4 separate regions of the Homo sapiens genome follow, and regions 1, 3 and 4 are each linked to region 2. Evidence: promoter capture Hi-C in 16 types of primary human blood cells and fetal thymus (Javierre and others, 2016). All regions are on one chromosome and are shown on one strand. The core of a region is centred on a gene start or on the middle of the fragment in contact, and the rest is flanking DNA. Distances in the headings are between cores, read along the strand shown. Region 1 has its middle 10 kb from the start of MIR6755. Region 2 holds the start of CCDC89 (coiled-coil domain containing 89). Region 3 overlaps EED (embryonic ectoderm development). Region 4 has its middle 26 kb from the start of LINC02695.

Region 1 (2,700 bases), core at 11-2,510, 600 kb before region 2:
GTTAAGCAACGGGCATTCAAAAAATAAGGAAAGGGCCAGGCGCGGTGGCTCATGCATGTAATCCAAGCACTTTGGGAGGCCAAGGCGGGTGGATCACCTGAGATCAGGAGTTCGAGACCAGCCTGACCAATATGGTGAAACCCCGACTCTATTAAAAATACAAAAATTAGCTGGGCGTGGTGGTGTGCACCTGTAGTCCCAGCTACTTGGGAGGCTGAAACAGGAGAACTTCTTGAACCCAGGAGGCAGAGGTTTCAGTGAATGGAGATCGTACCACTGCACTCCAGCCTGGGCGACAGAGTGATACTCTGTCTCAAAAAAAAAAAAAAAGGACGGGGAGGGGGGAAAGGCTCCTGTTTGAAGAGCTCTTAGTCTGGCACTGATTTTAGAGCATAGGAAACCACAAGATGTGTGCATTTCAATGAGATGCTAAAATGAGCAGGTCATTAAAGGAGGTAGAAGAGAGGCAGTAACTCAGAAAGGCAGAGCCCTTTCCAGAGGACATTTGTTTTACAAATATTAACTGAGCCCAACATCATGCATGTAGAAAGCAGCCTGACTACCTGGAAAGCCTCTACTACCAGGAAGGCAGCCTAGCAGGCTGCCTGTTCTAAACCTGGCAAGGCCACCAGAAAGAGGCATCAGACAGTGAGGGGCCCTATCAAATCCTAGTCTGTTCACAGCTGGCGTCTTGGATGTACTGGCCTTGATTATGGCCCAGAAGACTAGAAAGCACAGCCACAGACGAGAAGAGTCCTGGCAGAAAGCTGAGTCAGGCCCCAGTCTGGGACAGGAACTGCTAAATCCTAGACACAGAAGCAATTCAATAGGCGGCAGAGCTAGTGACAATTCTCTACCACTCCCACCCGTAACCTTGGACATGGGTTTGAAAGACACCAGTTAGTAACAGTGAGAAAATTTCAAGTTGACTGTGGAAAGTTGGGCTGGGCTGGGCTGAAATCAACTTTATATAATTATATCTACTTTGGGCTGTTTTGTGTTGTGCCCAGCCAATATAAAATTGCAGTTTAGCAAAACTTTTGAGAGTTTATTATTAAAATACTCCCTAAATGATTATGGTACATTCACTCTTTTCACATGTGGGAACCACTGCATAATAAAGGTCTATATAGGGCCATCACTAATACAGTGCTTTGCACACCTGGCCAATTAAATACATGAATAAATGATTCTCTCCTGTCTACTAGGAGCTAACATTTTAGAGCAAAGGCAAAAAAGTATTTTGAAGGGTCCTTCACAGAGAGTTTTGACTTCCCAAGGGTCACAAACTCTGTATTTCAGCCAGATTTACTCAGGGATTAAGGGGAATAATGCAGAACTCTTACATAAGTTATTCATTTTATTATTTTTCATTAGAGTCAGGGTCTCGCTCTGTCACCAGAGCTGGAGTGCAGTGGCGGGATCATGGCTCAAGGCTCAAGCGATCCTCCTGCCTCAGCCTTCCAAGCAGCTAAGACTACAGGCATGTGCCACCACACCTGGCTAGTTGTTTTTTGTAGAGATGGAATCTCGCTATGTTGCCAGGGCTGGTCTCAAACTCTTGGGCTCAAGTGATCTTCCTGCATCAGCCTTCTAAAGTGCTGGGATTACAGGCCTGAGCCACCATCCCCTGCAGGTTGCTATTCAGAACTGGGATTATTAAGACAATTTGCAACCAGATTCAGTAAGATAAGCCAAGCCTTTCTTATATGAAATATTAACAGTTTAAAAAGTGATTTTGCATGGCTGAGCGCGGTGGCTCATGCCTGTAATCCCAGCACTTTGGGAGGTCAAGGTCGGGAGTTCGAGACCAGCCTGACCCATATGTAGAAACCTCATCTCTACTAAAAATACAAAATTCAGGCATGGAGACGCATGCCTGTAATCCCAGCTACTCAGGACGCTGAGGCAGGAGCATCGCTTGAACCCAGGAGGCACAGGTTGCCATGAGCTGAGATTGCGCCATTGCACTCCAGCCTGGGCAACAAGAGCAAAACTCTGTCTCAAAAACAATAAATAAATAAAAAATAGTGATTTTGCAATGAAGAAAAATAATGGCCCATATAGCACAGGGTGTCAGTTCAGTGCCATACACTTCTTATGATCAATGATTTTCTGGCAACCCAGTTTATTGGTTTCGGAATTAAACACACACACTTCCCTCACTCATTATGCAGAAATGTAAGAGAAATCACCCAACAATTTTTTATTCCACATCAGCCTGGGGTACCCAAGCAAGAAAGGCAAAATGAATCTGCTTTCATTCACATGAAGTCTTGCTCTACATCAGAAAATAACCATGAAATACCAAGAATCTTTGTAGAAATCCACCAGCTCAATTCCAAAGTGATAGTCATTTTCTATAAATCACAACAGGGGAAACCCAGAGGTAACCACTGAAAGCAGGGGAAGTTACAGACTGTGGTCTCTGGTTAAAGAGAGGCCATTTAGCACTTTTTACTTATGGTTGTATTTCTCACAATGTGGGCCCCACTTCCACTACCCTTGGTAAAAGCCATCTAGACTCATTTTCCCTAGGTTACTGTGTTTCACACTGCAGGCTGAGATCCATGGGCAGGTTGTGAAATCAATTTAGTGAGTTACAACCAGCATTACAAAAAGAAAAAAAAAAAGAAATAGAAAATTTCAGAATGCATCATATTAGTAAGTATATTGTTTCATGGGACTTTCTATATGTGT
Region 2 (2,700 bases), core at 143-2,642:
CTCTGTCTCAAAAAAAAAAAAAAAAAAAAAAAAAAAGTAGTGTCTGTCATATTAGGGATATTTTTCTCAATTTGATTTTTACCTTCAACATCCACTTAATACACATTTATCTGAATCTCCCCCATGTGCCAGGCACTAGTCTAATCATCAAGGATGAAATAGACACAGTCCCTGCCCTTAAGGATCTTACAGTCTAACAGAGGGAAGCTGGCAGATAAACAGTGACTGCAATAAAATTTTCACATCCTCCACCAGAAGTACAAATAGCTATAGCGGATGCACTAAAAGATGTGAGTGACCAATTGGACATGTAGGGGCCAGGAATAGGCTTCAGAGACGATTCTTAACTAAGAATAAAAAGCTTTACTAGAGTGACAAGGGACAAAGTAGGAAAGGCATTCCAAGTAGAGGAACACCTAAAGATAGGGCGAGAGAGCTGGTTAGTGGATTTGGGTTTGGCTTCAATATTTGGGTTTGAGGAGTAAAATGTCAAGAAAATCCAGTGGAAGAAGGGGCTGGAGAGACCTCAGAAGTCACATAATTTAAAAAATTATACATAACTTTTTGAGTAAGCTTTCCCTTTCTGATCTTACATAATGTTTAAGATAAAAAAAAAATCCTTCCTAGCCCCAGAGATTTGATGTTTACCTTCATTTTCTTCTAGTTTCTGTTTACATTTAACTAATCTATCAGGAGTTGACTTTGGCATATAATGGCAAGCTTCATTTGAATCTTATTTTTTCTGTTTTAATGTTTATCTGTGTGGTTCACTAAGCTTCTTTCTGTAACCTTATTTTGCTAATGGGTAAAAACAGGGGGTGTTAAATATCTAATAAAGAGTATTTATGCCCAGGTGGGGACAATGCTAAGAACAACAAAAGAAATTTCACTGGTGTTTTCTATTTTAATACTTAAATACCAAAAGGGAGCTGTGCCAAACATCACGGGTGCAGATATGCAGGCTTTTAGGGTCCTGGCTCTCAGAATACCACTACTACTTTGTATTCATAGACTGAAATTTTTTGAGGAGCCAACCATGTTTCCACAAACAGTAATTTATTCAAACGATAACTGAAGAGGGGAGAGGGAGGATAAATATATCATTGCCTGCTTCATTTGTTTACTACTACCAGAAATTAGGTGGAGTCAGGCTTCCTCCCCTGATGCTGGCTGGAGATTGAGTGGGGTTGGCATCTCTGTGCTGTACAGGCCAGACACTGAGACAGTTGACAACTGAGAGCTGTGATTGGTTAGAAAGGCAAAAGTAACCCGACCAGATTGGCTCTGGACTCCCCCAGATTCCCCTGTTGTTACTTCATAGCATTCTGAAGACCTGTCCACCAATTACAGGGCTCCTTACTGGAAAAACCAACTGCTGGGGAGTGCCAAGAGTCCCTAGCAACACCCTGCAGCGTTTGAAATCTGAGGGGAAAAGACTGTAGTCAGCCCTTAGTGGATGAGAGCGCCTATGCTCCAGAAACAGCAGGCTCCCAGGATGGACACCCCGCCCCCTGAAGAACGCTTAGAGAAGCAAAATGAAAAACTGAACAACCAGGAAGAGGAGACGGAGTTTAAGGAACTGGACGGTCTGAGGGAAGCCTTGGCAAACCTCCGGGGACTGTCAGAGGAGGAGAGGAGCGAGAAGGCTATGCTTCGCTCCCGCATTGAAGAGCAGTCCCAGCTCATCTGCATCCTGAAGCGGAGGTCAGATGAGGCCCTGGAGCGCTGCCAGATCCTAGAGCTGCTCAATGCAGAGCTGGAGGAGAAGATGATGCAGGAGGCTGAGAAGCTCAAGGCCCAGGGTGAGTACAGTCGGAAACTAGAGGAACGCTTTATGACCCTAGCAGCCAACCACGAGTTGATGCTCCGCTTCAAGGATGAATACAAGAGTGAGAACATCAAGCTGAGGGAGGAGAATGAGAAGCTGAGGCTGGAGAATAGCAGCCTCTTCAGCCAGGCTCTGAAGGATGAGGAGGCGAAAGTATTACAGCTCACAGTCCGGTGTGAGGCCCTCACTGGGGAGCTAGAAACGCTGAAGGAGAGGTGTGCTCAGGATGCCTGCCAGGCACAGGCGCGCGAGAAGGAGCTGCTGGAGCTACAGAGCCAGCAGGCCTGCACCCACACCAAGGAGACAGAACAGCTGCGCAGCCAGCTGCAGACCCTCAAGCAGCAGCACCAGCAGGCTGTGGAGCAGATAGCTAAGGCAGAGGAGACACACAGCAGCCTGAGCCAGGAGCTGCAGGCCAGGCTGCAGACCGTCACTAGAGAGAAAGAGGAGTTGCTGCAGCTGTCCATTGAAAGGGGCAAAGTGCTTCAGAACAAACAGGCAGAGATCTGCCAGCTTGAGGAAAAGTTGGAGATAGCAAATGAAGACAGGAAGCATGCGCTGGAGCGGTTTGAGCAAGAGGCAGTGGCTGTGGACAGCAACTTGAGAGTCAGGGAGCTTCAGCGCAAAGTAGATGGGATCCAGAAGGCCTACGATGAACTCAGGCTGCAGTCTGAAGCCTTCAAAAAGCACAGCTTGGATCTTTTAAGCAAGGAGAGAGAACTCAATGGCAAACTCCGCCATCTCTCTCCATAGGGAAGTTTCTGCTTCCTCTGGCCTGCAATTCAGAATTCAAATATTTGCGTCTTAGCATTATGGCAAGAGTAAAGATGATATCCCATTTATTATACTTTCAAGCACAAAAGGCAACTCAA
Region 3 (2,700 bases), core at 50-2,549, 580 kb before region 2:
ATAGCTCAAAACAATTATGAAAAAAATAAAAGCGGGAAAAATCTATCAGATTCCAAGAATAATTATAGAGCTACAATAATGAGGACTGTGTATGTAGTACTGGTGGAGGGACAGATATACAGATGAAACAGAACAGGAAAATCAAAAACAGCCCCACGTAAGTACAGCCAAACAATTTCTGAGAGAGGTGCAAAAGCAATTCAATGGCGGAAGAATAGTCTTCCAACAAATGCTGATGGAACAACTGAGTATCTATAAGAGAAAAATGAACTTCCACCTAAACCTCGCACCTTCATAAGGAAATCAACTCAAAATGGATTACACATTTAATGTAAAACATAGCAGTATAAAACTTTTACAAGAGAACACAGGAGAAAATCTTTAAGGTCTATAGCTTGGTAAGGAGTTCTCAGGCAAAACATCAAAAGCATAATCCATAAAATAATTTTAAAAAATCAATATACTGGATTTAATAAAAACTACAAACATTTGCTCTGTGAAAGACCCTATTAAAGAGGATGAAATGACAAGCTACAGACTGAAAGAAAATATTTGCAAACTATGTATCTGATACAGGATTCATATTTAGAATATATTCAAACTCTCAAAACTCAACAGTTAAAAAAAAAAAAAAAACACAACAAAAAACCAATCCAATTAGAAAATGAGCAAAAGATATGAAAAGACATCACCAAAAAGGATATACGAATGGTAAATAAGCACATGAAAAAGATGTTCAACATCACTAGCCATCAGGGAAATGCAAATTAAGACCACGATGAGATATCACTACACACCTATCAGAACAGCTAAAATAAAAAATAATGACAATACCAAATGCTGGCGAAGATTCGGAGACACTGGATCTCTCATACATTGCTGGTGGGAATGTAAAATGGCACGGCCACTCTGGAAAATAGTTTGGCAGTTTCTTAAAAAACTAAACAAACTTAACCACAACCCAGCAATTGCCCTCCTAGGCATTTACCCAGAGAAATGAAAACTTAAGTCCACACAAAAACCTGGACACAACTGCTGATTAGCAGCTTTATTTGCAATAGCCCAGAACTGGAAATGACCAAAACCTCCTACCATAGATAGTTACATAAACTATGGTAATCCATACCATGGAATACTACTCAGCAATAAAAAAGGAGAACTACTGATACAGGCAACAACCTGGATGGATCTCAAGGGTTTGAGTGGAAAAAAACAATCTTAAAAGGTCCCAAACTGTACCATTCTTGAAATGACAAAATTCACGTGATAAAATGACATAAAACTAAACACACACATTGTACCAGTGTCAATTTTCTGGATTTGATATTGTATTACAGTTATATAATATATAAACTTTGGATTCTGGATAAAGATCATATGGGACCTCTCTGCACAATCTTTGAAACATCCTATGAATCAAGTTATTTGAAGGTCAAAAGTTTAAAGAAAAAAGAAAAAAACAGTTTACACATAAAGCCAAGAAAAAAGTAAATCAGGCTCTGCCCAAGAAAATGTGAAGTGGCCTGAAATTCACATCAAGAAAAGAAACCGGACAGCAATTTCACCAAATTTGATAATCCTAAATGCTCATGTAACATCACCAATAGCTTCTCTAAATTATCAGCTACAAAAAAATACACAGACACACAAACACACACACACACACACCCAGATGGCCTTGACTTACAATGGTCTGATTTACAATTTTTCAACTTTACCAAAATGGTACAAAACAGCTGCAATTTTGAAGTACTTGGAATTTTGAATTTTGATCTTTTCCTGGGCTAGCAGTATGCAGTATGTGAGATATTCAATGCTTTATTATAAAACAGGCTTTGTGTTAGATAATTTTGCCCAACTGTAGGCTAATTCTGAGCACATTTAAGATAGGCTGGGCTAAGCTGATATTCAGTAGGTTATGTGTATTAAATGCGTTTTCAATTTATGATGGGTTTATCACGATGTAATCCCATCATAAGTTGAGGAGCATCTGTATAAATCCATCAACAGGGGCAGGGGTTGGCAAACTACAGCCCATAAGCCAACTCCAGCCACCTGTTTTTATAAATAAAATTTTACTAAAATAGTCACAGAGATACAAAAAAACAAAAGCCAATTCTGTTGGCTTTAGTTACTGGTTATCTTGTAACAATACTGACTATCAGAGAATACTATCACCTTATAAAACTATACTCATCTTACTGGAGCACAAAGAATTATAATTCAATGGCATGTTTTATTCTTAAAACAAGTTTCTAAATATATCAAAATATGAGACTTTAAAAAAGGCAACTTCCCAGCTGCCATTCAATTTAATAAACTACATAAAGTGCTCCCTGCCAAGTTCCAACATGCGCACACACATACACACACACACACACACACACACACACACACGATGGAAGTACAGCTTAACTGCAGTTACCATACCTTAGAAAGTATCAAATCGCCTAACCATCGCACACAATCAACATAATTCCTATGTATGTCTCTGGTAGAAAAATCAGGAAAATGGATTTTCTGAGAAATAAATGGCCTGAAGGAAGAATGGAAATGTAAAAAGTTAAAAGAAAAAATTATAGTAGAATCATACTCTTTTTCATTTTTGGATTTATAAAACTTGGAAAAACAAAATGTAAGACTATTAATTCCTCTGTGTTCCTACATAACCAACCACCTTATCTATTTATTGAAAGCTAA
Region 4 (2,700 bases), core at 44-2,543, 530 kb before region 2:
TTTTTTTGAGACGGAGTCCAGCTCTGTCGCCCAGGCTGGAGTTCAGTGGCGCCATCTCAGCTCACTGCAACCTCTGCCTCCCGGGTTCACACCATTCTCCTGCCTCAGCCTCCGGAGTAGCTGGGACTACAGGCGCCCGCCATTACGCCTGGCTAATTTTTTGTATTTTTAGTAGAGAGAGGGTTTCACTGTGTTAGCCAGGATGGTCTCGATCTCCTGACCTTGTGATCCACCCGCCTCAGCCTCCCAAAGTGCATTCTCCTTTTTGATTGGCATCACCTGCTGCCTTTCTCCTTTCTCACTGTATTTAGAGCAATCTTTGCCAAATGATTTTTGTGTCTTTCCAGACCATGATGTGGTTGACTAAGAATTTGTTTAAGCCTAACTATTTTTCAGTTCTTCATTTGACTCAAAAAGTAGTTTGTTGTAGAATAGAAGCTTCCCCTTGAAACAGCATATGGCAAGACCTGGAATTAAAAATAGACTTAACCACTGAAAAATTCTTCCATAAAATTAAATTAAATACGTAGTACAATTCTCTTTTACCATGTTATCCTCAATGGATAAAGATGAACTTTTCTCCTTATTAAAATTGAGAATGTTGCAGAATATTTCCATTATGTGCGAAGAAAAGAGGAACTGGCACTTATTAGCACACATAGTATGCCAGTCTCTGTGACAGGTGCAATCTGAGCGCCATCCTACCACTATGCTTGAATAGAGAGATGGTCATACAATGTCAACATGGTAATAAACTTCAGAGGTCATATAACCCACTGCTTTGGTTCTTTAGAGAAAACGCTGAGGCCCAGAGAGTAGGTTAGTGATCATTCAGTTCATTAAAAACCAAATGGGACTTGAGCTGAGTTTTCTGACACTTAGTCAGTGTTCTTTCTATAACATACTGGTATTCTCAGGAGAGAATTCGTCATGACTTATAGTTACATAGTCACCATTCTTTCCTGTATCTCTGTCTGCCCCATCTCTTTCTTCTATTTCTTCCTTTCTTTGTATTTTTTCATCTTTAACAGTAATGTTTTCTCTATTCTTAGAAAATTGGGTGTTTGAAAACAGCCCTCAACAACTTAATTCAACTTTTATCTAATGATTATTAACTGAATACTGCATCTTAGACACCGTGCTGGGTAATTGGTTGGATACAGTAAGATAATATATACAGATATAACTAAAATACAAGGCAGTGTATGATAAGAACTTTGTAAATAAGTTTTACAGGATTTCAGAGGTAGGTGTGGGGAAAGTGGCCAGTGAACTGGGCTTTTAAAGAATGGAAAAGGTTTTCATAAGGATAAGGGCTGAAGGTAGGACAATAATTTTACACAAATTGAAGAGCAGTAATAAGGATACAGAAGAAGGGAGCAACGCAAGTTGGAGAGATGTCAAGTAGAATTGTATGAGTAACAAACTGTCTTACAGGAGAAAATGGAGGACAAGGCTGAGAAACAGGCTGTTTTATTTCTGCAGCAGGGCAAGGGATCCTTCCCCTTATCAAGGCTAGAATACAAAGAAGGTGGAAGCCCCTATGACAGTCAGCTGTCATAGAAGTTGTAGATAGGTCACCTAGAGGCAGCACTGGAAACCAGCGAAAGTCAGCAATCCAGGTGACAAAAGTATCAACGAACTGGTACGAAAGCTACTACCAACTGGTACAAAAAGAACCACAGTCCAAGGAGACGCTTACTAGCACACGCCTACCTCCAGGGGGTGCTCAAGGCTTCCGTCCTTCCTTCCAAAGAAAAAAGATCTCTGAAGAGACTCCAGGACAAAATGGGGATTTCAGATATAGATGGAGGTTTTAGAGAAATGATTCTGCAGGGGATTCTGTTGAAGGAATAAAGTGGTTATAAACAGAAGTGGGCTGAGAGACTTTCCCCGTCAGTGACCTCTGGCGACTCGGCTTTTGTTAACTCTTGTAATGCTTTCATCTTTTCATCTCTTCACTGCCTTGGGATTGGTGTCTGGGACGTTCTCAAGTCAGGAGGGCAAAAGTAACCTCAGGGAGTCCACTTTGTTCAGTCCAGCTGCTGAGGCAAGAGATCTGATAGGGTTTGGAGCCCAGCATGAACTGGCAGCAAAGCATAGGCGTTTGTCCAGCGTCCTCTGTGTATGTGTTGGATGAGAAGCTTGTGCAGTCACATGCAGGATTCAGAATCCTGGCAGATTCTGAATCCACCTCCTAATTGTACAAGATTGGCATCTGGTGTGGTCTCGCAAGGGACTAAGATTTAGGAGGAAGGAAATTCATAGCAGGATTCTTGCTGCGAGGAAATCTTACCCAAACCTTTAATTAGTGATTACCAACAGGCAGAGATGGATAACTATTTCTAAAGAAAATGTACTCTTGAGAGGCTGAGACTACAAAGGCACATAGCTGCATATTTGTGAGGCTCCATCCCTTATGGTGGGAACAGAATCTGGCCTCGCCAGGAGTCACTTTTGGGACTAGAACATCCTGCCAGCAGAAGTCTGGAATTTGGAGAAATGCAAAGCCAATTGTGAGGTAGATACCTTCTCTACAAAGTAAAGATTGTGTTCTTGGACAGAGCCAGCCCTCATTTAATTTAGGAGTGAGAAGGTGGAAATGCGAGAAGCAATGGCTTGAATCTAGGATCCTGGAGAGGTGTTTAATCCGTAGGAATGAAGCAGACCTGTGAATGACATAGGGAAGAAGGGTGCCAA

What was found. Contacts are between HindIII fragments. The CHiCAGO score rates a contact against its expected background, and 5 or more counts as called.
Region 1: a contact is called between a fragment that was not itself captured here and the fragment with the promoter of CCDC89 in region 2, in 9 of 17 cell types (total CD4 T cells, naive CD4 T cells, naive CD8 T cells and 6 more). The highest score is 11.9, in total CD4 T cells.
Region 3: a fragment that was not itself captured here is called in contact with the fragment with the promoter of CCDC89 in region 2 in 8 of 17 cell types (total CD4 T cells, naive CD8 T cells, non-activated CD4 T cells and 5 more); the score reaches 11.7 in total CD4 T cells.
Region 4: a contact is called between a fragment that was not itself captured here and the fragment with the promoter of CCDC89 in region 2, in 7 of 17 cell types (non-activated CD4 T cells, naive CD8 T cells, naive CD4 T cells and 4 more). The highest score is 13.3, in non-activated CD4 T cells.

The regions. Positions count from the first base shown.
Region 1 is chr11:86,287,027-86,289,726 of GRCh38, reverse strand. It overlaps a transcript of EED not described here. Among named protein-coding and RNA genes, the nearest start is that of MIR6755, 10 kb to the right of the region's middle. The HindIII fragment of the contact is 5,987 bases long and covers 1-2,700 here.
Region 2 is chr11:85,684,887-85,687,586 of GRCh38, reverse strand. CCDC89 (coiled-coil domain containing 89) reads left to right here and starts at 1,392. Exons shown (of 1, transcript NM_152723.3): 1 at 1,392-2,700. The coding sequence starts at 1,457. The coding sequence ends at 2,581. RefSeq lists enhancers at 1,596-2,095, 2,096-2,597. The HindIII fragment of the contact is 2,434 bases long and covers 778-2,700 here.
Region 3 is chr11:86,268,292-86,270,991 of GRCh38, reverse strand. It overlaps EED (embryonic ectoderm development), which reads right to left. Exons shown (of 12, transcript NM_003797.5): 9 at 2,431-2,536. Among named protein-coding and RNA genes, the nearest start is that of MIR6755, 8.7 kb to the left of the region's middle. The HindIII fragment of the contact is 6,326 bases long and covers 1-2,700 here.
Region 4 is chr11:86,217,677-86,220,376 of GRCh38, reverse strand. No RefSeq gene overlaps it. Among named protein-coding and RNA genes, the nearest start is that of LINC02695, 26 kb to the right of the region's middle. The HindIII fragment of the contact is 1,706 bases long and covers 441-2,146 here.